5 separate regions of the Homo sapiens genome follow, and regions 2, 3, 4 and 5 are each linked to region 1. The links are contacts of gene promoters, found by promoter capture Hi-C in blood cells and fetal thymus (Javierre and others, 2016). All regions are on one chromosome and are shown on one strand. Each heading gives the region's core, a stretch centred on a gene start or on the middle of the fragment in contact. The rest is flanking DNA. Distances are from core to core; before and after follow the strand shown. Region 1 holds the start of PLA2G12A (phospholipase A2 group XIIA). Region 2 holds the start of CYP2U1 (cytochrome P450 family 2 subfamily U member 1). Region 3 overlaps RPL34-DT (RPL34 divergent transcript). Region 4 overlaps HADH (hydroxyacyl-CoA dehydrogenase). Region 5 has its middle 14 kb from the start of RPL34.

Region 1 (5,083 bases), core at 1,932-4,431:
GTGCCCTTTATTTGACCAACCTCTCCCTACCATTAACTCACTCTTTTTTTTTTTTTTTAAAGCTCTCTTGATCTCTTTCGTGCAACTAAAAATACCCCTTAATCACCATGTTTCTCCAGATTTGGGATTGTTCTGTTTGGTTCTGATTTGGTCACCTGAATTCCAAAATATAGGAAAGGTTGAATTGTTCCAGAGAGACTGCTCGAGTAACAGCAATTTTATTATTATTATTATTATTATTATTTTTGAGACAGAGTCTTGCTCTGTCACCCAGGCTGGAGGCACGGTCTCGGCTCACTGCAACCTCCACCTCCCAGGTTCAAGCTATTCTCCTACCTCAGCCTCCCAAGTAGCTGGGACTACAGGTGTGCACCACCATGCCCAGCTAATTTTTGTATTTTTAGTAGAGACGGGGTTTCACCATGTTGGCCAGGCTGGTCTCGAACTCCTGAGCTCAACTGATCCGCCCGCCTCAGCCTCCCAAAGTGCTGGGATTACAGGCATGAGCCATTACGTCCTGCCTAATTTTTTTTTTCATTGAGATCCAATTATCTATCAGTATGGTGACTTGGACTTGAAACCACATGTCCGTTAAACGTAGAGTACTTACTAAGACAAAAAATTTTTTTTCACTGAGGCATATAACATTTCTTAAATTCTCAAATTCCTTTGTGTTTTTTTGTGCCAGAGACCTTCCTCTAAACTCCAAATAGTAAATTTTGAGAAGCCTGTAGAAGATGAAAAAGATTAAAAAGAAAGATTAAGCCAGGTGTAGTGGGGGCATGGCCTATAGTCCTAGCTATTTGGGAAGCTGAGGCAGGAGAATTGCTTGAGCCCAGGAGTTGGAGGCTGCAGGGAGCAATGATCACACCACTGCCCTCTAGCCTGGGCACAGAGGGAGACCTTGCCTCAAAAATATTAACAAAAAATAAAATAAAAAGACTAAAACAGTATTTTAACAAGGCTGGTATTCATTCAACTTCAGGCATGTTTTAAATGTAAATAAACTCTAGAACCCTAGACTAATAAATTTATGAAGACGACTCCTTCCAAGTCTTCCCTATCTCTGTAAATGGCAACCGTTTCCTTCCTTTGGCTCAGGCCAAAACCTTCAGAGTCATCCTTGACTGGCCTTTCTCCTCAGGTCCATTGCACTTGCTATTCCCTCTGTCTGGAATGCTGTTTCTCCAAATAACCACATTCCCTCCCCTTACCACGTGCAGATTTCTTCTCAAATATTCTTTCATCAGTGAGGCCTTTGCTGAACAACCCATTTAGAAGAGTAAATTGCCTCCAACATGGCCCCTCGTCTGCCCTGATCAGACTCCACACTTCCCCTAATTTTACTTATTTACTAGTTTACTGCCCATCTCTCCCTCACCAGAACTCAAGCTCCACGGACAGAGATTTTTGTCTGTTTTATTAACTGCTGAATCTCAAATTAGAACAACATCTGAAGCACAGTTGGGACTCAAATATTTGTATAATGAATAGGAATGACTAAGTAAAACTGTAACATTTGCTTTAGGAAAGGCAACTATTTGATCCTTAAATTATGCACTTAATCCTCCGAACAAGTTCTACAAGAATAAAAACATCTTCATGAAGCATACGTTTAGGTGGTAACGTTTAGGCACAAATTTAAGAAGCAATGCAACATGTCTCAGCACCTGTTCAGCGCTTTAAAGTATACAAGATACAGTTCATCCTTTACTTCTATTAACATAAAACTAGAAATTATCTTGAAAATTGCAGGCAGCATGTGGCATCATAGGTTTACATGATACCAGTTCCTTTTAAGTTCACCTATACAATCAGGTTCCAACAATGAAGTCACTGGATCCCCGATTATTTTCCGCTGCCAGCATAATGAGACTCTAACCTTGGCTAATCTTATTGGAAACATGATCTCCCAACTGCTCTCTTAACATTTTCAATTTCCAAACAAAAGTCCAATATTTTTCTGACCTATTAAAATATTTAAGCACTCAAAAATGTGCTACAAAAGAACTATCTCTGCCTGAAATACTGAGTTGATTAGTACTCATACCGCCACCAAACAAATTCTCAGGTTCAAAGAGAAAGTTCAAAAAATATTAAAAGAGTAAATGAAGATAACTGTATTAACGTTAACCAACAATGAGGAGGAGGCGGGTCACTGATATCTAAGGAAAGAAGAGTTATCGGAACCCTTTCTCAACACTCGAGTACACCAAAAGTCTGTACAAAGGTCGCAAGTTATTGTCTATGGGTTTGCAGAAAAAAAACCATTTAATATCAATTATAGAGAAAGTTAATACGGCATGGTTTTTAAATTCTCAGTTTGCTTCGCATGTTCATCCAATTTACAGAAGCAAAAATGAGCTAAAACCAGTCTGTTCCACTCTATTCCCATGATTCCTACGTCAGTAAGTTCTTCGGCAACTTGGTGCAATTGAGGGGGGGAAAAGGTAATTCAGAAGCAATGCAAATGGGACGGGGGGTACACCTCTCCGTTAGAATGTGACCTCTCACATTCTAACAATAGTGGTGCGAACTTGTACCCAGCTTGCTCAATCACTAGAACGGCAAGATTCTAGCAGTGGTTAAGTTTTTCCACAGCCGAAGGACACCGTCAAGGTCTGCCTTGCATCTGTCACTCACACCTCCAGGATCTCCGTCACCCCAATCCCCCGAAAGCACGAGCCCTCGCTGGGCCCGGGTGCCCCCTCACCGTCACTGCATTTATACTGGCAGAGACCGTCCTCGCCTCCCAGGAGGTCCAAGGCGGCGTTCAGGTACGTGTCTATCTTATGAACGCCGTTCCGGATGGTCTTCAGGGTGGCTCTCCAGTCGGTGGTCTGGGCCTGCTCCTGGCACCTGACAACAGCGGCCATGAGGAGGAGCAGGAGGGTGAGCGCGGGGCGCGAGAGCAGGGCCATGCGCGCAGCGCCGGGCTCTACGGGTCCCCGAGCCGCGGCGCGGGGCGCGTCCCCACAGAGTCCCCAGGACGCGCTAGGCAGCGGCGCGGGCCCCGGACTTGGCAGCAGCCAGCTCCATATCCACGCCTCCTTCCCGGCTGGCCCTCAGGATCTCGCTGTCTTTACGTGAACCGCCTCGGGCAGGCAGCGCCGTCGCGGGGACGCGCCCGCTCACCTGGACCAGCGCGCCCGCTCACCTGGGCCAGCAACCGTCCCCTGTGCGCCTGCGCCGGAGCACGGCGCGTCAGCGGCGCACGGGAGGGGCGGGACGCGCAGGGGTGGGGCGGGGCGGGGGCGGGGTTGGGGGGGGCGGGGAACCGGGGGAGGGGCGCGCGGGGCGGGAAACGGGGGCGGGGCCTCCATGCCCACGTGGTCTCCGCGGCACCCTCCCAAGACCCTTGGTCCTGGTTCACAAGAGAACCTTAAAAAGTACCCAGGCCTGAGCCCCTTTTCTAGGGAGCCTGATTACGTTGTCCCAGGTGGCAGTGGGCGTCGGTATTTTTTAAGAAAGCTCTCCGGGCTGTTAACCGTGAAGCAAGAGTTGCAGAGCTAACCCCGGTGGCCTAACCTGACCAGTCGGGGCTCAGCACAGTAGCCCCGAGAGACAAGCTTTTCTGGGTGTGGACAACATCGGAGAAAATAACCCCTGTGCCCCCTCGCAGAGAGCGCTGCGAGAGGTCCAGCTGAGTTTCCGGCTTGAAGACGTGGTTCCATTGGCAATGTGGGCAGAGTCCGGCTGTCAGCTCGCAGAGCAGGGCTTTTCCTCCTTGCGTCCTCTCCCGGTCCTCCAGATCTGCTGTGGCCGCGGTTGGGGGAGCGGGATCTGGAAGATGCCAACCCATGCCTTGGCGGTGCCTGACTCTAATCAGGACGAGCTAAATGCTAGTTTAGACTTTCCGGAAAAAGAAAATGGGCCAACATAAAAATCATAAAATTCTCCCCTGGTAAGGAAGAAACAGTAGTGTAAACTTAAATACAGTAAAAAGTAAAATAAATCTTAAGGAAGTCATTGTTTTTCTACTCAAGGGATTTTGTAACTTGATAGTTACAGTGACGTTTGTTTCTCTGTACCTACCACCCTGCCCCCAGCATTGTGCGGGATCCATAAATAACTATTGCAGTAGTACTTTGTATCAGTTGTAAATATCTGGTTATCTTAGTATCACAGCAGTTTCCAAGAATTTTACAGTAAGATCCAGAGCAATGTTGAAAGTATTGGGCAGACCAAGCGCGGTGGTTTACGCCTGTAATCCCAGCACCTTGGGAGGCCTGGAACTCCTGAGGTCAGAAGTTCGAGACCAGCCTGGCTGACATGGTGAAACCCCATCTCTACCAAAAATACAGAAAATTAGCTGGGCGTGGTGGCGGGCACCTGTAATCCCAGCTACTCGGGAGGCGGAGGCAGGAGAATCACTTGAACCCAGGAGGTGGATGGATGTTGCAGTGAGCTGAGATTGCACCACTGCACTCCAGCTTGGGGCACAGAGCGAGACTCTAAAAAAAAAAGAAAGTGAGTAAGTATTGGGCATAGGTGTGTCCTTTCTATAAGAATTACCAATAAGTTCTAGGTTTGGCCTTTTGTGTTTGTTACAAACTAAATGAGCTTATAATAAACGTTCAGTGCACAGTTCATAAAAATTACATCCCTCTTTATTGAGTGCTTACTATGTGCCAGGCACTTCATGAATATGATCGCTCACATTCAGAACACTACTTTACAAGGATGCAGACTTTGGGCAAGTTAGAAACATAGAAAGGCATTCCTCCCTACAAACAGGGTAGCCCAACAAACGGTGTAGCTCCTGGCTGGAGACTGCCTGCACTTCACTCAGCCCCTCAACCAGGAGTCTTGGGCAGTGATTAATTCCTACCACAATGGAGAAGGGGGAAGAATGTTCCCTGGAAGGTATTATTATCTTCCTCTTTTACAATAAAAGAGTCGAGGTGAGAAGTCATGTGACAGTATCTACTCCAAACCAAGGCCTCTGTCTTCACAAAATACCACAGATATTTTTATTTTTTAATTTTTAGACAACACATTTCAATACATTTTAAAAAGGGAACTTAGAATCATTGTCTTAGCTTTCTGGAACATTGGTTTCTCAGCTCCAAAGTATGAAAGT
Region 2 (4,963 bases), core at 77-2,576, 1.8 Mb before region 1:
AGAAGATGAGAGGTGTGGAGGTTTTTTTTTTTTGTTTGGGGTGCATAAGCTTAAAATAACATGAAAAGCATGTCAAAAAGAATATGAGAACAGAGTGGACTTGAAATTTAACATATCCTACTGGCATCACTTGTTTATAGAAAAATAAAATGGATCATGTATTTATTTGAGGACTCACTATGCTTTCTTTGATCACATTTTTATAGGTACAGCGTGGTGTTCAAACTTTTAATGTATGGAGAAAAATGAAACGGCTAGAAAAATGGCCCAGTACAGACAATTCTATGCTCAATCCAACTTGAACAGAAACTACAGGATTTGGCCTAAACAAGACTGAAAGGGAAGCCCTTATCAGGAAAGCCATTATCTGAGAAGATAAAATAAAGTAATACTTTGTTTTTAAAGTATTATACAATTCATATCTAATATTTCAACCTCAGCCTTTCAAGTGTTGTCTAACACCAATAATAATATTGCCACCCCTCCCTCAACCGGTTATCTTCTTTTCATATTTCTAGCTACTTAAATCCACCAAGCAAATTCTGGTTTCGCTATTTCTGGATTTAAGTACATTTTCTAATGCACCCAGGCCACACGCAGGAATGGACACAGCTTTCGCTCTCCGCATAAGTTTTCTAGCCCAGGGCAAGCTCTCAGAACGTGACTCCTCGTGCCTCGCTGCCCGCCCCTCGCTCCCCCCACTCCCGCCATCATCCCTTCCGCAGAGTTGGCTGCCAAGCCGACACCCACAGATTCTGCATTCCACGGCTTCCCAGCATCCTGCTGTCTCTGCGTGGAGGAAAGGGTGCTGCGAATCCCAGTTTAGATAAGGAACCCCGTCTTTTCACTACTACACCGAAGCATGCAGGAATAGGGCGTTGACCCCATTCTCCCAGCTCAGGGCACAGGTGCTAAGGCCGACCCATCTCACGGGCCTGTTCACCAGTTTCCCACACTCAGTACAGATCCTAACACGGTTTATGCACTTCATAACCATGCGTTTGTGTTTGTCAACTGACAAACGAGTGATAATGACAAACGAATGACACAAGGGAAACCAACAGCCAATCAGAGCGCAAGGTTGTGTTGCCAGCATCCCAGTTTCAGGGACAGTCACCGCCAAGCCCGACCCTGCAAAGGGTCGTAACCGGACTTCGGGGCAAACTTCAGGTCCCCCGCCTGCTAGCCCGCCAACCCCCTCCGCCAGGCAGCCGGCGCGCCTCCAGGTTCCGCCCAGGCGTCGCTGAGTGGCGGCGGCGGGGAGAATGCGCGCGGCGCAGCCAATCCGGGGGCGTTCCTACACCCCCTGCCCGCCCCCGACCTTCCAGAGCAGAGCAGGACACTGGCGCCGCGGGTCAGGCAGCTGCGTGCGCGTCTCCTCCAGGCAGCAAGGGGAACCCGAGGCCGCCGGCGCCCGGACCATGTCGTCTCCGGGGCCGTCGCAGCCGCCGGCCGAGGACCCGCCCTGGCCCGCGCGCCTCCTGCGTGCGCCTCTGGGGCTGCTGCGGCTGGACCCCAGCGGGGGCGCGCTGCTGCTATGCGGCCTCGTAGCGCTGCTGGGCTGGAGCTGGCTGCGGAGGCGCCGGGCGCGGGGCATCCCGCCCGGGCCCACGCCCTGGCCTCTGGTGGGCAACTTCGGTCACGTGCTGCTGCCTCCCTTCCTCCGGCGGCGGAGCTGGCTGAGCAGCAGGACCAGGGCCGCAGGGATTGATCCCTCGGTCATAGGCCCGCAGGTGCTCCTGGCTCACCTAGCCCGCGTGTACGGCAGCATCTTCAGCTTCTTTATCGGCCACTACCTGGTGGTGGTCCTCAGCGACTTCCACAGCGTGCGCGAGGCGCTGGTGCAGCAGGCCGAGGTCTTCAGCGACCGCCCGCGGGTGCCGCTCATCTCCATCGTGACCAAGGAGAAGGGTGAGCGGGAGGTCGTGGGCTGTGGGTACGCGGATGCCGCGGATGAGTCTCCAGGTGCGTGGGGGCTGCAGTTCCTGTGCCCCTTCCGGCCGCCCGCGCCCCCAGGCTGCCTCACACCTGCATCCTGAACTAACAGGTGATGGTGGTGGCGGCGCTTCTCCTTTCTGATGCCTTTAAGATCCCATCAAGTAGTGACGGACGCGTGACTTGCTCATACTCCAAGATCATAAGTAGAAAAGTCATCCGGAGATTGAGGGAGAGTAATAGGGATGGCGGAAGGACAAGGTGGCAAGCCAGGTTCCATCTTTCCAAAAGTAGCCTTCCCTTCCACCAGCTGTGACCTCGGAGAGAAACTTTGGCCCCCATGTTAGAAAGAGGGAAGGATATTCTTTTTACCTTGTGGGTTTCGAATGTAAGAATTTAAGAAGATAATTTCCAATAAGATAAAAAGTCCAGAAAACACAGAAGAAGCCTATTACCAAATCTCCGGCTTTGGTTCATAGCCTCTGATTCCTGCGTATGGGAGTCTAAATTGGACATTTTTGGGGGTTGGAAAACGTGTTATCTGCTGCAATAAAATGTCCAATCTAACCTGTCTCTACCGTCCCCCTTTGTCTTACTGGCTGGCTTAGGTCTCTGACTTCTTTTCTGAGTCACTCCTACGCATCAGTCAGGTGTTAAATGCCTTTTCCTTGGGGAAGCCTTTTCTCACAGCCTCTGCAAGTAGGGTAGCCTCCCTTGTTAGAACCAGGTCCCTTGCCCAAGCACTTTTCCTTCACTACACTTTTCAAAACTGACGCTACATAACTTTATGACCTTGGGCCTGGATGTCAGTCTTCACCACTGTTCTGACATCTAGGAGGACAGAGTCATTGCTGTCTGAAACATAGTAGGAGTTCAAGTATCTATTAAATGAATGCTATTTCCTGCCCCTATAACATGGCAAAGAAAGATCTAGGCTTTTCAGAATCTGATAAAGCCAGAGTTTTGCATCAGGATTTTAAACGGAAAAGACAAATATTGTATGATCCACTTATATGAGGTGCCTCCTAGCGTAGTGAAATTCATAGGGACAGAAAGTCTCAGTTTTGCAAGATGAAAAAAGTTCTATGGATGGATGGTAGCAATGGTTGCACAACAGTGTGACAGTACCTAATGCCATTAAGGTGTGCACTTAAAAATGGTTAAGATGGTAAATTTTATATGTATTTCACCACAATTTTTAAAAAAGAAAAGAAAAGCAGGTAGGTTTTCTCCAGGCACCCATGAGCTCAGAAGAGAATTTTAGGTAGAAGCAGTATTACGAAGGCATGTAGTGGATGAGGTGTGAACTGTGACATTTGTTTTTCAGTGGGGCATTTAAAGTATTATGATCTTTATCCCTACTCATTTAAAATCCTTAGATAATGTCTTAGTGTTCATCCATGTTGTGGCATATGTGAAAATTTTCTTTTGAAGACTAATATTCCATCATATGTACAATCATCCCTCCTTATCTGTAGGGGATTCCTTCCAGGACCTCCTGCGAATAACAAAACCCTAGGATGCTCAAGTCCCTGATATAAAATGGTGTAGTATTTGCATATAGCCTATGCATATCCTCTTGGATACTTTAAATCATCTCTAGATTATTTATAATACCTACTACAATGTAAATGCTTTGTAAATAGTTGTTATACAGTATTGTTTAAGGAATGACAAGAAAAAAAGTCTACACATTCAGTACAGATGTGTTTTTTTGATCTGCGGTTGGTGGAACCAACAGATGTGGAACCCATAAATGTGGAGGGTCGACTGTATATACCACATTTTGTTTACCCATTCATCCATTGATAGACACTTGTGCCTCCAACTTTGGGCTATTGTGAATAATGCTGCTATAAATAGAAGGGGGCAAATATCTGAGTCCCTAGGAGTTACTTGATCATGTGGTAATTCTAGGTTTAATTTTTTGAAGAACCATCATACTATTTTACAGTGAGTGCACCAGTTTACATTCCCACAGGGGTCCCAATTTCTCCACGTCCTCACCAACACTTCTTTTTTTTTTTTTTTTCACACTTGCTTTTAAGATTGGGCTTAAATGTTACCTCTTTGAGAATGTGTACCCTGAGATGCTTCCCTACCCTGCAGAAGGAGATGAACTTCTATGATACCATTGTTTCATTTTAAGACCTTCCCAGTCCCTTCTAATCAATCCATAAGTCTTACTGACTCCTACAGCAGATATGTGTGCTACATCCATCTACTTTTCTCCATCTCTACTGTCAGCATCCTCATCCAAGCTACCATCATTTATTTATTTTTCTTTTTTTTCTAAAGCTACCATCATTTCTAAGCTGATACTTTAGAAGCCTCTTAACCGACCTGCTTGCTTCCGCTCCAGATTTTCATCCACAGAGCAGCCAAAAGTATCTCTTACATAAACCATGAATCAAATCTTGTAGCTCTCTGGCTGAAACCAATTGCCTCTGCACTCCTTACTTGACCTACTATGGCCTGAAGGATCTGGCTGCTGCCTTTCTCTTTTTTAGCTCTGCCTTCACTTGTACATTTCAACCTGACCTTCCTACTCTAGACACACTAAGCTGATTTCTGCCATGCCTGGGCCTGCCTCAAGGTACGATGTTTGTCTTCTTTGGGCCTGGAATAACTTCTTACTTGACTGATTGCTTGTCATCCCTCAGGCCTCTCAGGCCAATTGTTACCTTTCAGTGCTATTTTGGTCAATGCCCAGTACCACCTCTTATTTTATCTCATTCATATTTTTCTCAGTAAACACTGGCAAGTATTTAGCCTATGACCACTCCCACCTCTCAACGGAATGTGAGTTTCTTTAGGGCAGAGATTTTGTTCTTTTGTTAACCACTGTATCCCTACTTCTTGGCACAGAATAGAGAACCAAAAGATGAATGAATTCGTGCATACAAGCATCTATTGATGTATGTATCACATTTTATTGTAATTTGTTTTGTGTGTCTGTCTCTTCCTCTGGATTTCTTAAGGTAGGAATTAGGTTTTCTTCTTTGAGATCTCAACAGTGTAGTTTCCA
Region 3 (4,797 bases), core at 421-2,920, 1.1 Mb before region 1:
TCATTAGCAAGCACTGCTTCTTTCTGACTGTGCTCATAGGTCATAAAGCAAATGAGAAATTTTCTTGAGCCTCGTTCTTAAGGGATGCAGATTGCAACTACTGCTGTGCTATACGCTGGAGGAAAGAAATCACATAAAGCGATTAGAAAGGAGAAAAAAAATAAGTGAAACTACCTTCTCATGTACTTCAGGGTTTTCCTCCCTTCTGAGTTTAATATGAATCAAACAGGTGTGCATTCAAAGCATGCAAGTGTGTCTTCATTGGCTTTTAATCATCAGCTTGAAGAAAATTCAGATCTCTCAGAAAGAGAGAAAAGTAAACAGCTGAGCACTGTGACTCATTTACACTTCAAATATACTTTGAATTGGTTATTCCTCAATTAATCAAATAGCTGGTGTATCCCTAAAGTAGTATAAAGTGACGCACTGTGTGAAATCAATTTTTCTTTCCAAAATCATTAAATCCAGTAGCCTGTGACTACATCCCTGCTAATTCTGGTACCAGTCCTTTCCTCCTCCATTAACTTTGGCACGCCTAACAGCCTGTCAAGAATAATTTCCCAGGACGTAAATAATTCAGAAATTAAAAATTAATAAATAATAACAGAGAACTACTGGGAAATAGGCTGGGTCAATTAGTGCGCTCTGCATTCTGTTTCTTCACAGCAGGGGGAGGCAGCCACATTCGTTACTTGAATCTTCCTTTCGATTCTGCAGTCTGATTTACAGCTCTTCATTACTGGATCCAGTCAGACGCAATTACCTCCATCACTATCTCAGTTCCTAACTTCAAAGAAACGAACGTTTTCTTGTCTGCTTTTTTTCTCCTTGAAGCAGGCTCAGCTTGACATCCCTGGAATTTCTACCACGCAGACTAATTAATAAGTCTTCGACTTATCATATTCACTTCTCTTCTTTGATGTGCTACCTTAGTCAATCATCCCATTTAATTAGAATTTCAATGATAACTTTACTTATCTTGTGGCTAGATGTAAATTAAAATAATGGGATTTTAATTCTCTTTCGTATGGGGTTATGACATTTTGGAAGAAAAAGTTTCAACACAAACATGATATTATGTACTTTTTACTTTTCATGTGGGGGTGGGGGAGCATTTTGCAAAATTATTTTCTTCTTGCTACAAAAGAGTATTGCTGTTGAGCAAGCAATAATGAAAATGCACTGGATTTTTCTATAGCATCTTTTCACCAAGCTTTCATAGGAAAACAATTGTCTTCATTTGCATAAATAATTGGAACAAGACACAGGACGTGGAACAAGACACAAAGGCAGTGGCTACGTTTTGGGAAAAAAAAAAAAAAAAGGATCTCCAGAAAGTCAAGGAGTTGACACACTAACCCTTTTAACTCTTTTGCCCTTTTCTGTCAATCCATGCTATGTTTCCATTTTGATAAATTCTATAGTGGTTTTTCTAGAGTTCCCCAAAATAACACAAGGAAATAAAAATGTTCTCCTAAGAACACACCAAACATTAGTAAGGTATAAGGTGTAACAGTGATGTGCAAAACTGGTTATAAGGAAGAGCAGAAGGCAGCATTTCATTTCTAGAAAACAATACTAAGACCATTTATCTATTGAGCAGCCATGGTGTGCCAGCCTCAGCTACGTGCTTTATCTCCGTTAATTCCCGCAGCACACCCACAATATGGGATTCCCACTTCCATGTTACAGATAAAGAGACAGTCTCAGTGAGGTTAACTTGCTTTCTGAAGTTCACAAAGGTAGCACGTGAGGAGAAAGAAATCAAAAGACAAGGCACGAGAGAAACAATTTAAGCCTTTAAGCATAGCATTTAAAACTTTCCATCGTCTGGCTTCAAACTGCTTGCTAAACTCACTCTCTTCCTACTTTACTACATTAACTCATCCAGAATAAAACTCCAGGCATGAGTTTAGTATCTACTGTATTATACCTTATTAATAATATATGCCTTATTAATACATTTTTGATGGTTGCTTTAATGCTTATAGACATTGGCAGAAATTCAGTCATTGTGGATGTAAATAGGGGGCATGTTTGTATATAAAACACCATGGTGACCTCAATCATTATAAATACATTGTTTTTAAATAGCAAGTACAAACAGAAAATCATATACTATATATACAAGCTTAAAAGAAGAAAATAAGCTTTGCTCAGATTTTCTTATTTTTTCCCAGGAATAAAATTATTAGCTGTTTCATTGGTTGCTTTTAAAAAAGTTACTAACAATAGGAACATCAATGGGAATTGCACATAATTATTCTGCCCTTAATCTCAATCATTCCCTTCCTCCACCCTCAGTAACAATGTCCAGTAAGACAAGAAGCAGAGGTTACAATGACCAATAGAAATTTATTTCATTAGTAAGATGTGAAACCACTGTATTTATACCATTTTGAATCTAACCTTTCGGGGATTTAGTACAGTTGTTCTTTAACAATAGAACTTCGCTCATTTGCTACTTAAGACATGATTATTTAAATTAAAGTTAATTGGTTTCCTTACTCCCCTTTAGGGCTTTAGGCTCAGAACATTTCTATTAGAAAAATCTAATTTGTTTCAAACTCCTATTTCTAAAATTTACAGTGGTTATTTAGAGTGGCTCTGATATTTTAACTCTTTGTAGCAAAACTTGTACAATGTGTTTGTGTTTTAAGCTAAGTGTTATTACCAAAAAGTCAAAAAGTTAAATTTTTTTTAAACTTTATAAAGTAAAAAAGTAACAGTAAGCTTATTAAGGTTAGTCTATTATTGAAGAAAAAACTTTTTATAAATTTAGTGTATATAAAACATATATATAGTGTGTATATAGAGTATATATATTTATCTTTTTATATATAAATATATATATAGTGTATACAAAGTGTATAGTGTTTATAAAGTCTACCATAGTGTATAGTAATGTCCTAGGCCTTCCCATTCACTCACCACTCACTCACTGACTCACCCAGAGCAACTTCCAGTCCTGCAAGCTCCCTTTATAGTCAGTGCCCTATACAGGTGTACCATTATCTTTTATATCATATTTTTCTTCTACCTTTTCTATGTTTAGATATGTTTAGATACACAAATACTTACCATTGTGTTACAATTGCCTACACTATTCACTGCAGTAACATACTGTACAGGTTTGTAGACTAGAAGCAGAAGGCTATACTATAAAGCCTAGGTGTGCAGTAGACTCTACCATCTAGGTTTGTGTAAGTACACTCTATGATGTTCACACAAAGACGAAATCACCTAACATATTTCTCAGAATGTATCTGTCATTAAGCAACATATGACTATAATTGGGCCATTCACAAATAATCACGAGATTAATAAAAGGCATTGATTCATGGTGCAATATAGGCTATGAGGCCCAATAATGGAAAAACGTGTAAAAGTTCTACAATGAAAATGCTTTTAATCTCTTTACTTTATCTCCATAGCTGTTAAGTCTAACCTTCGCTAGAATACTAAATTTTATTATTTGATATTCTTCTTGAATAATTCCTTGGTAGGCGCTAATCTCTACTTATTCATTCATTTAAAAAATATTTTTGAATGCTTACTGTTTGCCAAGCACTGCTCTAGGTATTGGAAACATGTAAGTCAAAAAAAGGAAAAAAGAAAAAAAGGACCAAACTTCCTAGCCTCATGGAGTATACTTGTAGTGGAGACAGAGTACACTTGTAGTGGAGACAGACGACACACAATAAGCACAATAAATAAATATATAGTATGTTAGAAAGTGATAAGTGTGAGGAAAAAAAGAACCTGGTGGGAGGAACTAAAAATGCCAATGGAGGACAGCAAAAAGTGCAATTTAAATGAGATGATTAGGATGGGCCTCATTTCAAAAGTGACCTTGAGCAAAGGCATAAAGGAAATGGGAGCAAGCCATGCAGATACGTGGGGAACAGCATTCCAGGCAGAAGAACAGCCAGTGAGACATGAAAACCATGATGTCTTACGCAAATTAGAAAAGGCGCCCCATCACCCTCCTCCAATATGATTCACTACATTAGTTGATCTAAAGAGAAAATTTAAACTCTCATCTTAATAGATAGTAAGAAGGCAATTCATAAATTAATATCCCTTCCTGACATGGTAAAAAAAATAAATAAATAGTAATCAGTGGCTATTTTCTTAACATATGACATAGTGGAGAAACATGGATGTTTTCCTGCATTCAGGAATTAGACAAAAATGCCATTAATCTATCTACTATTTATATTTAGTATTGCATTTGAGATATAAGCCAATGGGATTGAATAATAGGCATAAGAATTAGAAAGGAGGAGGTAATATCTGAAAAAAATAAAATCAATAAAAAGTTAATACCAATCATAAGATAATTCAGTAAGGTAGCAGGGCATACATGAATAAACAAAAATCCATAGCCTTCAATTTAAAAGAAAACAATTAAATGGAGTAGTGGGTAAGAGTATACCACTTATGTTAACAGCAAAACAGATAAAATACCTAGAGATAAACTTAATAAGAAATGTACAGAGCTTTTAGGGATAAAACTTTAAGGACACAGCAAACAGATATTCCATGTTCTTAGATAAGATGACTCAGGATCATAAAGATGTCAAGTATCCCTAAGCTAATACACAAACTTGACACATAAAAATGTCAACTTTTGTTTGGAGTTAAACAAGTTGATGCTAAAAATTTGTATGTAATAATCAGTAAGAATTGTCAAGAAAACCCTGAAAAAGTAGAACAACATTGGGAGGGGTCAGTCTTACTAGATATTATATCATTTATTATACAAAGCATCTTGAATTAAAACAAAGTGGTCTT
Region 4 (5,478 bases), core at 1,588-4,087, 1.7 Mb before region 1:
GGTGAAGTTGGGGAGAAGGTGAGGCCAAGAGAAGGGCTGGAGTTGAGAGGCAGATGTAGGGAGCTACTGGCCTTGTGGTGGTGTTAAGACTGTCATGCATGAGGCAATAGTTGTGTTCTTTTTGTTTTTTTGTTTTTTTTTCTTAGTAATAGCCATCCTAATGGGTATGAGATCAGAGGTTTTTAACATTATACTGTGATGGACATTAGAGATTTCATGAATCTCCTTCATGGTTCCCGAAAGGTTGGTAAAGATTCCTTCTCTGACCTTTGTTGTACATATTGGTCTTCAATATGCATTCTTATGGAAAAAGGTGTTCATGGCTAAAACATTTGAGAGCCGCCACACTGAATGATCTCTGGGTTGTCTTCCTCCTCTCAAAATTGATGATCCTGATTATCTGTAGCTAATAAGCCTGAACAATAAATGCTTTCGCCAATCTCTTAAAGTAGTTGAGAAGCTAGGTGTGTTAGTTTCCCTTCTGTGATAGAGAAGAAACCTGTGTTGGAGAGCAGTGAGCTTATGTGTCTGTGGCCATCTCTGACCTGATTCACACATGTGCCCCTCACAGACAGGCACAGACACAGGGTTGGCATGCCTCTAGCCTTACAGCCTCTTGGATGAAAGGTATAAGACACATTCACATGTTGGAGTGAATTAAGCACACATCCATTTTGAAATCACAGGGCTGGATACCACTTAAAGAATATTGATCTTGCATTGGGCAACGCATAGCAACTGCCCTACATTTCCCCTTTTACCTAGCGTCACAACCACCAGTACTAGAAAGCAGTTAATCTGCTCACCAAAATAACAGAGAGAGACTTTAGTGGCATTTTTTCCACTTGGTAATTGACTAGACTCTGGCTATTAGCTCCTTTTTTTTCCTTACTATCCTTTTCAAACTAATAACGTGACTTCTCATAATTTTAAAGTAACTTGATGCTTACACAAAGTTTATCATAAAGGTTTCTAGCAACAAAACCAGTCATGACTTCTTGAGAACTTATTTCTAAAATAATTTACAAATTGAGACTTATGAAAAAATAGCTCTGTCATTCAAGTGTTCATTTCATGAGTATGAAATATCTCCCTTGTGCTAGACATCAGGCCAGGTAAAAAGTAAGATGTGATTGCTGCTCTTGAGAAACCTACTGTCTAGTGGAAGAAATACAGGTATGAACAACTAATTGTAATGAAGGCACAGACAGCCTACCTGTCATATCTGGGATTTGATCTGAAACAGATGAAAGTTATAATAGTTTACATACCTTACCTTAAAGTATGGTTTTTAAATACTTAAGATGTGATATGACATATAGTGTGTATATATATCTTATGCTAAGGAAAAAGGGACATTAAAAAAGCTTATGTTAAAAGATATATGTATACATTGTACTGCCTGTATGTTTGTGAAATTTGTATTTACTGGAAATTCTCATTGGCCTGTAGATAGGAGTGTTCCTAAGCACCCTATATTGGGATTTGTGGTAACAGCAGCTTGACAACCTGAAGTGGATGATGCAACAGCACTTTTGAAAGGTCTCTCCGTACTATCTTGATTTCATCATCTAAAGTTGGTGTTGGCAAAGAGAAGATAAGTGTTTAGGGTGTTGGATATCCCAGTTACCCTGATTTGATCATTACACATTTTAGGCAGGTATCAAAATGTCACATGTACCCCAAAAGTATGTACAGCTATTACATATCAGTTTTTTAAAGAAGAAAAGGTTGGTATGGTTAGCTTTTCTATTTCAAGTGTATCATTCATCTTTCACATCTGGGATTTCTCCTATGCTCTGGTTGGTTAATAACTTTTATTCTGAAATCGGTGAGATTCTTATGACATGAAATAGTCTATAACCAGTTAAGTTTTTATTTCTCTGTTCTGTTCACATCCTGGGGACTGGGCTGCCATTACATAACTGAGCAGCCATTGGTGGTTCACACCAGCGCCACACCCAGTTATTTTCTTTCAGTATTTGAATTCCTGCACAAAAGATCTGCTGTATCTGCAAATCACTAGAGGCACAAAAGAAGTGATTACCTCTACTAAGGGTTGGGAGAAGTTTCACTAAAGGAGAGATGGTGTCCATGTTAGATTATGAAGGGTAAGTTGAAGTCCATGAAGCAGCAATGAGGGAGCCGGACATGTATGGCAGAGGAAACCACATGAACAAGGGCACAGAGCCATGAGATAGCACAGAGGAGGGAGACGTGTGGTGTGGCTGGGGAAGACTACAGAATCGGGTTACTACCGTCCAAAGCATTTGTTATTTAGCAGTTATTGACCAGCTATCATATTCAAGGCATGTGATAAGTACTAAGGGCTACAAAGACCAAATCAATTTCTGCCATTAAGGGATTTTAAATCTAAGAGCAGAGATTAGACAGAGATCTAAATGACACAGTTTACTTTGGTGTAAAGTAGTACAATAAGAGCAGTAAAAATCTAGTTCTGAGGTTTCAAAATAGAAAGTACATTCATTTGGAAAAAGGCTTCATGGAGAGGGTAGCATTTGAAATGGGCCTGAATAATGGATAGAACATTTCTGGACAGCAGTTAATGGTTGGGATTAAGGAAAAAGTGTTGTCCAGAAAATGGTGACCTACAGAATAGTGGTACCAGTAATGAAGGCCAAGGAGAATTGATTTTAGGGTCAAGGTGATAACTGCAGCTTAGATAGATTATTTTGGTTTCAGGCACAGTTGGAAGTATGAGAACGATTGGAATTTCAGAAGGAAATTATATTGGAAACAGAACCTTGAAGGAAGTCCTTGTTTATAGGCTTAGAAGATCAAGAGAGGTCAATTAATATGGCTAAAAGGAACAGACAGATAAGAAACTGAAGAGTTTCAAAAATGAAACTTTTATTGGCAATGTACAGAGCTGTTGTAGAAGATGAAGCCAAAGAACAGGCATTGACTTTAGCAATTTAGTAGACCATTGATAAGTTACAGTAGTCCCCCCTTACGAGGGGAGGGAGTACATTCCTAGACCCTCAGTGGATGCGTGAAACTGCAGATAGTACCAAATCCTATACATACTATGTCTTTTTGATCTGATAACCCAGTCAACTACCAAGTGACTAATGGATTGGGTAGTATACAGTGTGGATATGCTGGACCAAGGGATGAGTCTCCTCCCAGACAGGACAATTCAAGATTGCATCACACTACTCAGAATGACATGCAATTTAAAACATGCATCATTTATTTCTATAATTTCCCATTTAATATTTTTGGACCATAGTTGACTGTTGGTAACTGAAACTACAGAAAGTAAAACCACAGATAAAGGGGGGACCAACTGTATCTAATTTCATGCAGCAGTGGTGGTGGAAGAAGCTACTCTGATAGGAATGTTTGTGTTCCCTCCAAAATTTATGTCGAAGCTGAATCCCCAGTGCAGCAGTATTAAGAGATAAGGCCTTTAGGAGGTGATTAGGTCATGAGGGTTCTGTATTCATGAACAGCTTAGTGCCATTTAAAGGGGCTTGAGAGACCAACTTTGCCTCTTCTCCCTTCTGCCATATGAGGACACAGTGCTCGTCCCCTCCAGAGCAGGGGTCCCCAACTTCTGGTCCGTGGCCCATTAGGAACCGGGCCACATAGAAGGATGTGAGCAGCTAGCAAGACTTCATTTGTATTTACAGCTGCTCCCCATCACTTGCATTGCTACCTGAGCTCTGCCTCCTGTTGGATCAAGAGTTGCATTAGATTCTCATAGGAGCATGAATCCTATTGTGAACTGTGCATGTGAGGGATCTAGGTTTCGTGTCCTTGTGAGAATCTAATGCCTGATGATCTGTCACTGTCTCCCATTATCCCCACATGGCACCATCTAGATGCAGCAGAACAAGCTCAGAGCTCCCACTAATTCTGTATTGTGGTGAGATGTATAATTATTTCATTATATATTACAATGTAATAATAATAGAAATAAAGTGCACAATCAATGTAATGCACTTGAATCATCCCTAAACCATCCCCTCTTCCCTGCAAGACGGTAGAAAAATTGTCTTCCGTGAAATTGTCTCCCATGTCTTCCTGGTGCCAAAAAAGGTTGGGGACCTTTGCTCCAGAGCATGCAGCAGCAAGGCACCATCTTGGAAGCAGAGAACAGCCCTCACCAGACACTGAACATGCTGATGATCTTGATCTCTGTTGTTTATACATTACCCAGTCTTTGGTATTTTGTTATAGCAGCACTAACAGACTGAAATAAGCCATATTACTAGAGTTTAGGAATTTAATGGCTCAGGAGAAAGTAGAAGCACCAAGTGTAGTGAATAAAATAGCAGCTAACAAGCTTTGTGCACCTTCACATGCCTGGCACTGGTCTAAGCATGTTAAACACATTAACTTCTTTAATCCTCACAACAGTTTTATGAGGTGGGTACCTTTGTTACTAACCTTTATGACAGATCAGGAAACCAAGACATAGAGGCTTCGTAGCTCACCCAAAGTCACACAGTGAGTGAGTGGCTAAATCAGTGTCTTAGTCTTTTTTTTTTTTTTTTTTTGCTGCTATTAACAGAATACCTGAGACTGGGTAATTTATAAAGAACAGAAATTTATTTTCTCATAGTTCTGGAGGCTGGGAAGTCCAAGATCAAGGTACCAGCTTTGGTGTCTGGTGCAGACCTACTCGTTGTGTCTTGCTGGGGGAAGAAGGCTGTCTGCACATGGCAGAAGGTGGAAGAAAGCTAGACGAACTTTCTCCGTCAAGTCCTTTTATAAAAACCTTTAATCCCATTCATGAGGGAGGAGCCCTCATGGCCTAATCTCCTCTTAAAGGCCGCACCTCTCAATACTATCATATTGGCAGTGCCTGACTTTTGAAGAGGACACATTCAAATCATAGCCAGGTTTTAAACCCAGGAACTCCAACTATAGGCTTGTTTCTCCACATATCACCATGCCACCAAGTAATTTAAAGACTTTGGTGGTAAAGCAAAGGCCAGCCTCAGGTGATTAAGGAGGATCCTTTTCTTCCTCCCTTTTTATATGGAGCAGGATCCCAGCCCGTTTGTAAAAAAATAGAAGGACACAGAAGGGAAAACTTGAAAATGAAAACTGAAAAACAAGTCATGAAATCAGAAGATGTGAGATCAAAAGCAAAATAAAATAGTTTACCTTAGAAGGCTGTGCCTGGATCCAACAATAGGCCTCAGACCCTTGCAGAAAGAAGAAGGGGGCAGCCCAGAATTAAAAAAAAAAAAAAACAAAAAAAAAACCCGCAAGCTATTGTGATGTGCCAGGCACCACTGCAGGTTTTTGACTTGTATTAACCCATTTAACCCTCCCAACAACCCTGTTGCCCCTGTTTTATAGATGAGGAGACAGCCTGCTGAGGTTAAGGAATGTTTTCCATCCCCAACTTGGCACACAGGCTCTGGAGTCTGGCCCTTGCCTGTCTCAGTACTGTTTCAGGCTGTTGCCCTCAGACCCCGCCATGCCTTCCAGGGTCAAGAA
Region 5 (5,286 bases), core at 1,945-4,444, 1.1 Mb before region 1:
TTGCATCTTAGTGTAAGTCATAAAAGATGTCACAGGCCATAGGGTCTCTCTTTCACAACTACTCAATTCTGCCATTGTAGAGTGTCAGTAGCCATAGACGATACATAAACAAATGGTCATGGCTATGTTCCAATAAAATTTTATTTACAAAAACTGATGTCAGGTCAGATTTGGTCTCTTAGCTCATAGTTTGGGACCCTGCTCTAGACAACTCTGCTTCTAGCCAAAGCTGCCATCTGATTGCAATTGCATGAGAGACCTTAAGCAAGACCAGTAGAAAACTGCCTTGTTAAGTCTAATCAGCCCAATGGATGGTGGGAAAAAATAAAATGGCTGCTTTTTAAATTCCATTCAATTTTGAGGTGATTTGTTACATAGCAATATACCACTAAGACAATGGTACAGTGCAATGATCTTTAAATATTTCTTTTTACTTGAGTACCCCTTAACATTTTGGAAAGTTATGTAGACTCTGGCACATTTTCAGATTGTCATCTAAAACTTTTCATTCAAAATGTAAATCCTTGCAAAGGATATCATTTCCAACAGAGTGAACATTTTAATAATTTTAAAGAGAACTGTTTTATCAATTTTTAAGCATATCAAAATCTCCATAGCCATTTTTTTGAGTTTTTGTATATGTATTTATTTATTTATTTTTAACTTTTAAGTTCAGTGGTATATGTGCAGATTTGTTATATAGGTAAACTTATGTCATGGGAGTTTGTTGTATAGATTATTTTATCACGCAGGTATTAAGCCTAGTACCCATTAGTTATTTTTCCTGGTCCTCTCCCTCCTCCCACCCTCTACCCTGCAATAGGCCCCAGTGTGTGTTTCCCTCTATGTGTCCATGTGTCCTCATCATTTAGCTCCCACTTTATAAGTGAGAACATGCAGAATTTGGTTTTCCGTTCCTGCATTAGTTTGCTAAGGATAATGGCCTCCAGCTCCATCCATGTTCCTGCAAAGGACATGATATTGTTCTTTTTTATGGTATAGTAGCCATTTTCAAAAAGACAGGAACAAGCTTTTCTAACATTTGGAAGTTTTATATTCGTTCTTTTTTCTTCCATTTTGTTTTGTTTTTTTAGAGACAGGGTCTTGCTCTATTGACTGGGCTGGAGTTTAATGGTACCATCCTGGCTCACTGCAACATCAAACTTTTGGGGTCAAGCAATCCTCTGCCTCAGCCTTCCAAGCAGCTGGGACTACAGGCATGTACCACCACACGTGGCTAATTTGTAAAATGGTTTTTGTTTTAAAAAAGAAAAAAAAGATGGAGTCTTGCTACGTTGCTTAGGCTGGTCTCAAACTCCTGGCCTCAAAGCGATTCTCCTGCCTCGGCCTCCCAAAGCAATGGAATTATAGATGTGAGCCACTGTGTCACCCCTTTTTCTTTTTGACATATATTACCATTCCATTTCCTCCATAGAATTTTAAGCTAATATATTTTTATGTTGAAATATTTTCCTGATTGGTAATTCCCACAATTCTCTCTCTTTTTTTTCTTTTTTTTCTTTTTTTGAGACAAGAGTCTCACTCTGTTGCCCAGGCTGGAATGCAATGGCGCAATCACAATCTCAGCTCACTGCAACCTCCACCTCCTGGGTTCAAGTGATTCTCCTGCCTCACCCTCCCAAGTAGTTGGGATTACAGGCACCCACCACCACGGTCAGCTAATTTTTGTATTTTTAGTAGATACGGGGTTTCGCCTTGTTGGTCAGGCTGGTCTCGAACTCCTGACCTCAGGTGATCCACCCGCCTTGGCCTCCCAAATTGCTGGGATTACAGACATGAGCCACCGCGCCCGGCCCTACAATTCTATTTTTAAGAGAGAACAAGCAAAAGAGAGAGTCATGGAGTCTTGCCACTTGTTTATCCCATGGATAAAATAAGGCGTTGATTGCTGCCTCTTCAACCATGCTCTCTGCTTCATTCTCAAGGGATTCCCTCAGGAAGATTCATTTTTTTGACAATTTGGGGGAGATGAAAGAGGATAAGGTTGCTAAATGAAAATCGTCATCATTCTCCTTCACTCCATTCGACATTATCTCTGAGTTCACGCCGTCCCCCAGTGACAGCCAGGATATCCTGCTCCAGTGTAAGATGGGAAAGACACCAAGCCCCTGGTTTTTAAAATTTCTTCACAATCAGTCAGGTATTATTTACAATTTGTTGACTATGTACAAAATGCTAGTATAGGCACTAAGATGAACAAAATAGACAAAAATCCCTGCCTTACTGGAGATTACCTTCCAGTGAGGGCTGACAGACAATAAATGAATGAAGGAATAAGTAATATGTCAATAGGTAAGTAAGTAAAAAACACGATATGAACAATAAATGCTATACAAAATATAAAGCAGATGCCGGGCACGGGGGCTCATGCCTGTAATCCCAGCACTTTGGGAGGCCGAGGCGGGCGGATCACGAGGTCAGGAGATCGAGACCATCCTGGCTAACACGGTGAAACCCCGCCTCTACTAAAAAATACAAAAAAATAAGCCAGACATGGTGGCAGGCGCCTGTAGTCCCAGCTACTCAGGAGGCTGAGGCAGGAGAACGGCGTGAACCCAGGAGGCGGAGGTTGCAGTGAGCCGAGATCGCGCCACTGCACTCCAGCCTGGGGGACAGAGCGAGACTCCATATCAAAAAAAAAAAAAAAAAAAAGTATATATATATATAGCAGATAAAGGGGATAGAATGCAGGGTGGAAGTAGAGGGTTGCAGTTTGAATATCCTGGTGAGGGGAGACTTCCCCAAGAAGGGGACATCGAAGCAAAGACCTGAAGGCAGTGAGGAGGGTGGCCATAAGGATATGTGGGAAAGAGCTTTCCAGCAGAGAATAGTCCGGAGGCAGGAGGAGGTCCTGAAGCTGAGGGAAAGCGCAACAGAAATGAGGTTAGGGAGTTCTCCAGACACCAGGTTGTGTGGGTCCTTGCCATTCATCTCTAGGACCAGTGCGGCCCTCAGACAAGGGGCCTCTCCTCTGGGTCCCATGCTTTAGAGGGCGCTGCTCTGGCTTTCACCTGCCAATATCCCACCCCAAAAGCAAAGAGTTCAGGGGACCAAGGGGCATGCTAACCCTAAATGTATGCTCTCTTTCTGGACATAATCCCAGAATCCCTGCCCGAGGCACCCAAACCCACGCACATGCTCATTTCATGTGAGTCAACATGTTCCCTCCTCAAGGAGTATTTATATTTTTGGTTTTGTAATTGCTGATGGTGAGTTGAAAGACTGACTTCTGCTGAGGGAATTTTAAGCAGAGGAAGCTGGTAACTCAATCTGTTTGGAGTCAAGGATCACTCTACTCAATGTAACACAAAGCTAAGAGGTAATGCAAAGGACAGGATCGGCAGTGAAGAAAACACGGGATTGCCATGTCTTCAGAAATCGACATCAGAAGCTCCCATGAGGTTTGTCTTCTGAAATTTCCTTTTCTGTTTCAAAAATCTGAGCTTAACAATATTGTCAGTGGTTCTCACACTTTAGATTCACTTAGGATTCTTCTGGGAAACTTGTTAAAATTCAGATACCCAAGCTCCATCAAAGATGTCCCCAATCAGAACCTCTGAAAGTCAGGCCAAGAACTTTCATGGTAACAGATCTCCTAGCTGATTTTCACCCAGATGGATCTTGAACTGCCCTTTCACAACGATGTGGTACAAACTGTGTACGGTTGGGCATTAGACAAACATGGGTTTAAATCATAGGTCTACCATTAACCAGTTAGGTGACTGAGCAATTTTCTTACCTTCTGTCCATCTTAGTCACCTCACCTGTAAAAATGAAGATAAATAATCATAATTTCAGAGGTTCTGAGGGTTGCTGAAATACCTTGTGTTGTCCACATCGCAGAGCACATGGTTCATGGTAATGATGCTCAGTAAGCCTCTTTCCTGCTTGCAGTACAAGAGCTGCCTTCTTACCTACTTACAGAGAAACACAGAAAATGCATCAAGATGGCCAGGATGAAGTCTTCTCATTTAGAGTGATTGAAGAGCAGTGATAATATTGGAAATAAACCAAAAAGCCAACTGATATCCTCCTGTATCATGTTTTACCCAAAATGATTTTTTTTTTTCTCTTTTTAAGGAATTACACACACACACCCCCATACACACACACTGGCTGATAGTATCAAGCTGTCTTTGATTAGCTCTGGGCAAATGCATGGCAGGGCATCTGAAAACCACAACTGGAGACATCATTTCTGATGGGCCTAATGCTCTGGGTATTTCCTTTCAACTGAACTTGGGGAAAGTACTTTGATATAATGTACATATGGAAATATTTTACAACATTCTTTAAAAGTTAGATACTTTATTCAGGATATATGTAAAACACACTTTTCTCTTCAACGTGTATGGCTAAATTCCTTGTCATTTCTAAGCCAGCGTATTTTTGTGTTGTTTTGTTAAATTGATCTCAGTGTGTAAGAAAGGACCATATTGACAGCCCTGGCGACAGTCTTTTTTCTGGGCTTCTGGCAGACAGCAGGAACAGCTGCTGCTTAAGCATACCCCAAATATTTTACCTCTGGAAAGATCATTTCTGGAGGTGAGCAGGCACTTTGATTTCTCATTCCCTCTGAAAGGTGTCGGTGGGAATGGTGGGGGAATAGCTGGCCATTTACTCGGGGCTTTGGTTCTGAGGCCATTGCCACATTTTTTTTTTTTTTTTTTTAAAACGGAGTCTCGCTCTATCACACAGGCTGGAGTGCAGTGGCGCGATCTCGGCTCACTGCAAGCTCCGCTTCCCGGGTTCACGCCATTCTCCTGCCTCAGCCTCCCGAGTAGCTGGGACTACAGGCGCCCGCCACTGCGCCCAGCTAATTTGTTGTATTTTTAGTAGAGACGAGGTTTCACCGTGTTAGCCAGGATGGTCTCGATCTCCTGACCTCGTGATCCACCCGCCTCAGCCTCCCAAAGTGCTGGGATTACAGGCTTGAGCCACCGCGCCCAGCCACCATTGCCACATTTCACATGTGCAATCAAATTGCAACCTGGGTTCTGGTTCAAATTCTTTTGAAGTGATTAAAGCCTGTTGTTTTAAATGCCATTCCTAATCTTAGGGTAAAACATTCCTTGGGAAAGTGTTCTTCAATCCAAGAATCTAACAGTGGTTACTTTCAGGGAGAAGGAATAGGGGAGGGGAGAAGATGATAAGGGGAAGGTGACATTTGCTTTGCATTTTTAAAATTATTTGTACTCTTTGAATTTATAACTCCAAACATGTCATCTTATTTTTTAAAAAAAGGAATCGTCTGTATAATGGTGT

Evidence for each region. The method cuts DNA at HindIII sites, captures the fragments that hold promoters and counts their contacts. A CHiCAGO score of 5 or more calls a contact.
Region 2: a contact is called between the fragment with the promoter of CYP2U1 here and the fragment with the promoter of PLA2G12A in region 1, in 4 of 17 cell types (total B cells, naive CD8 T cells, fetal thymus and 1 more). The highest score is 10.7, in total B cells.
Region 3: a contact is called between a fragment that was not itself captured here and the fragment with the promoter of PLA2G12A in region 1, in 2 of 17 cell types (total B cells and naive CD8 T cells). The highest score is 6.1, in total B cells.
Region 4: a fragment that was not itself captured here is called in contact with the fragment with the promoter of PLA2G12A in region 1 in 3 of 17 cell types (activated CD4 T cells, fetal thymus and naive CD4 T cells); the score reaches 6.1 in activated CD4 T cells.
Region 5: a fragment that was not itself captured here is called in contact with the fragment with the promoter of PLA2G12A in region 1 in 3 of 17 cell types (total B cells, activated CD4 T cells and total CD8 T cells); the score reaches 8.5 in total B cells.

What each region holds. Positions count from the first base shown.
Region 1 is chr4:109,726,889-109,731,971 of GRCh38, forward strand. It overlaps PLA2G12A (phospholipase A2 group XIIA), which reads right to left and starts at 3,182. Exons shown (of 4, transcript NM_030821.5): 1 at 2,714-3,182. The coding sequence starts at 2,921. It also overlaps a transcript of CFI not described here. RefSeq lists enhancers at 2,571-2,640, 3,300-4,176 and a silencer at 2,971-3,310. The HindIII fragment of the contact is 6,805 bases long and covers 1-3,567 here.
Region 2 is chr4:107,930,223-107,935,185 of GRCh38, forward strand. It overlaps CYP2U1 (cytochrome P450 family 2 subfamily U member 1), which reads left to right and starts at 1,327. Exons shown (of 5, transcript NM_183075.3): 1 at 1,327-1,911. The coding sequence starts at 1,422. CYP2U1-AS1 (CYP2U1 and SGMS2 antisense RNA 1) reads right to left here and starts at 1,897. Exons shown (of 7, transcript NR_125929.1): 1 at 1,749-1,897. All of the region lies in intron 1 of LOC107986298 (a long non-coding RNA gene), which reads right to left. It overlaps LOC124900751 (a long non-coding RNA gene), which reads right to left and starts at 1,363. Exons shown (of 2, transcript XR_007058221.1): 1 at 751-1,363. RefSeq lists enhancers at 697-1,204, 1,865-1,934, 1,995-2,064 and a silencer at 1,065-1,654. The HindIII fragment of the contact is 6,450 bases long and covers 48-4,963 here.
Region 3 is chr4:108,610,851-108,615,647 of GRCh38, forward strand. All of the region lies in intron 1 of RPL34-DT (RPL34 divergent transcript), which reads right to left. Among named protein-coding and RNA genes, the nearest start is that of RPL34-DT, 7.2 kb to the right of the region's middle. RefSeq lists an enhancer at 1-1,459. The HindIII fragment of the contact is 918 bases long and covers 1,212-2,129 here.
Region 4 is chr4:107,998,599-108,004,076 of GRCh38, forward strand. The region is part of intron 1 of HADH (hydroxyacyl-CoA dehydrogenase); the gene reads left to right. Among named protein-coding and RNA genes, the nearest start is that of HADH, 11 kb to the left of the region's middle. The HindIII fragment of the contact is 2,945 bases long and covers 1,366-4,310 here.
Region 5 is chr4:108,632,261-108,637,546 of GRCh38, forward strand. No RefSeq gene overlaps it. Among named protein-coding and RNA genes, the nearest start is that of RPL34, 14 kb to the left of the region's middle. The HindIII fragment of the contact is 4,333 bases long and covers 1,029-5,286 here.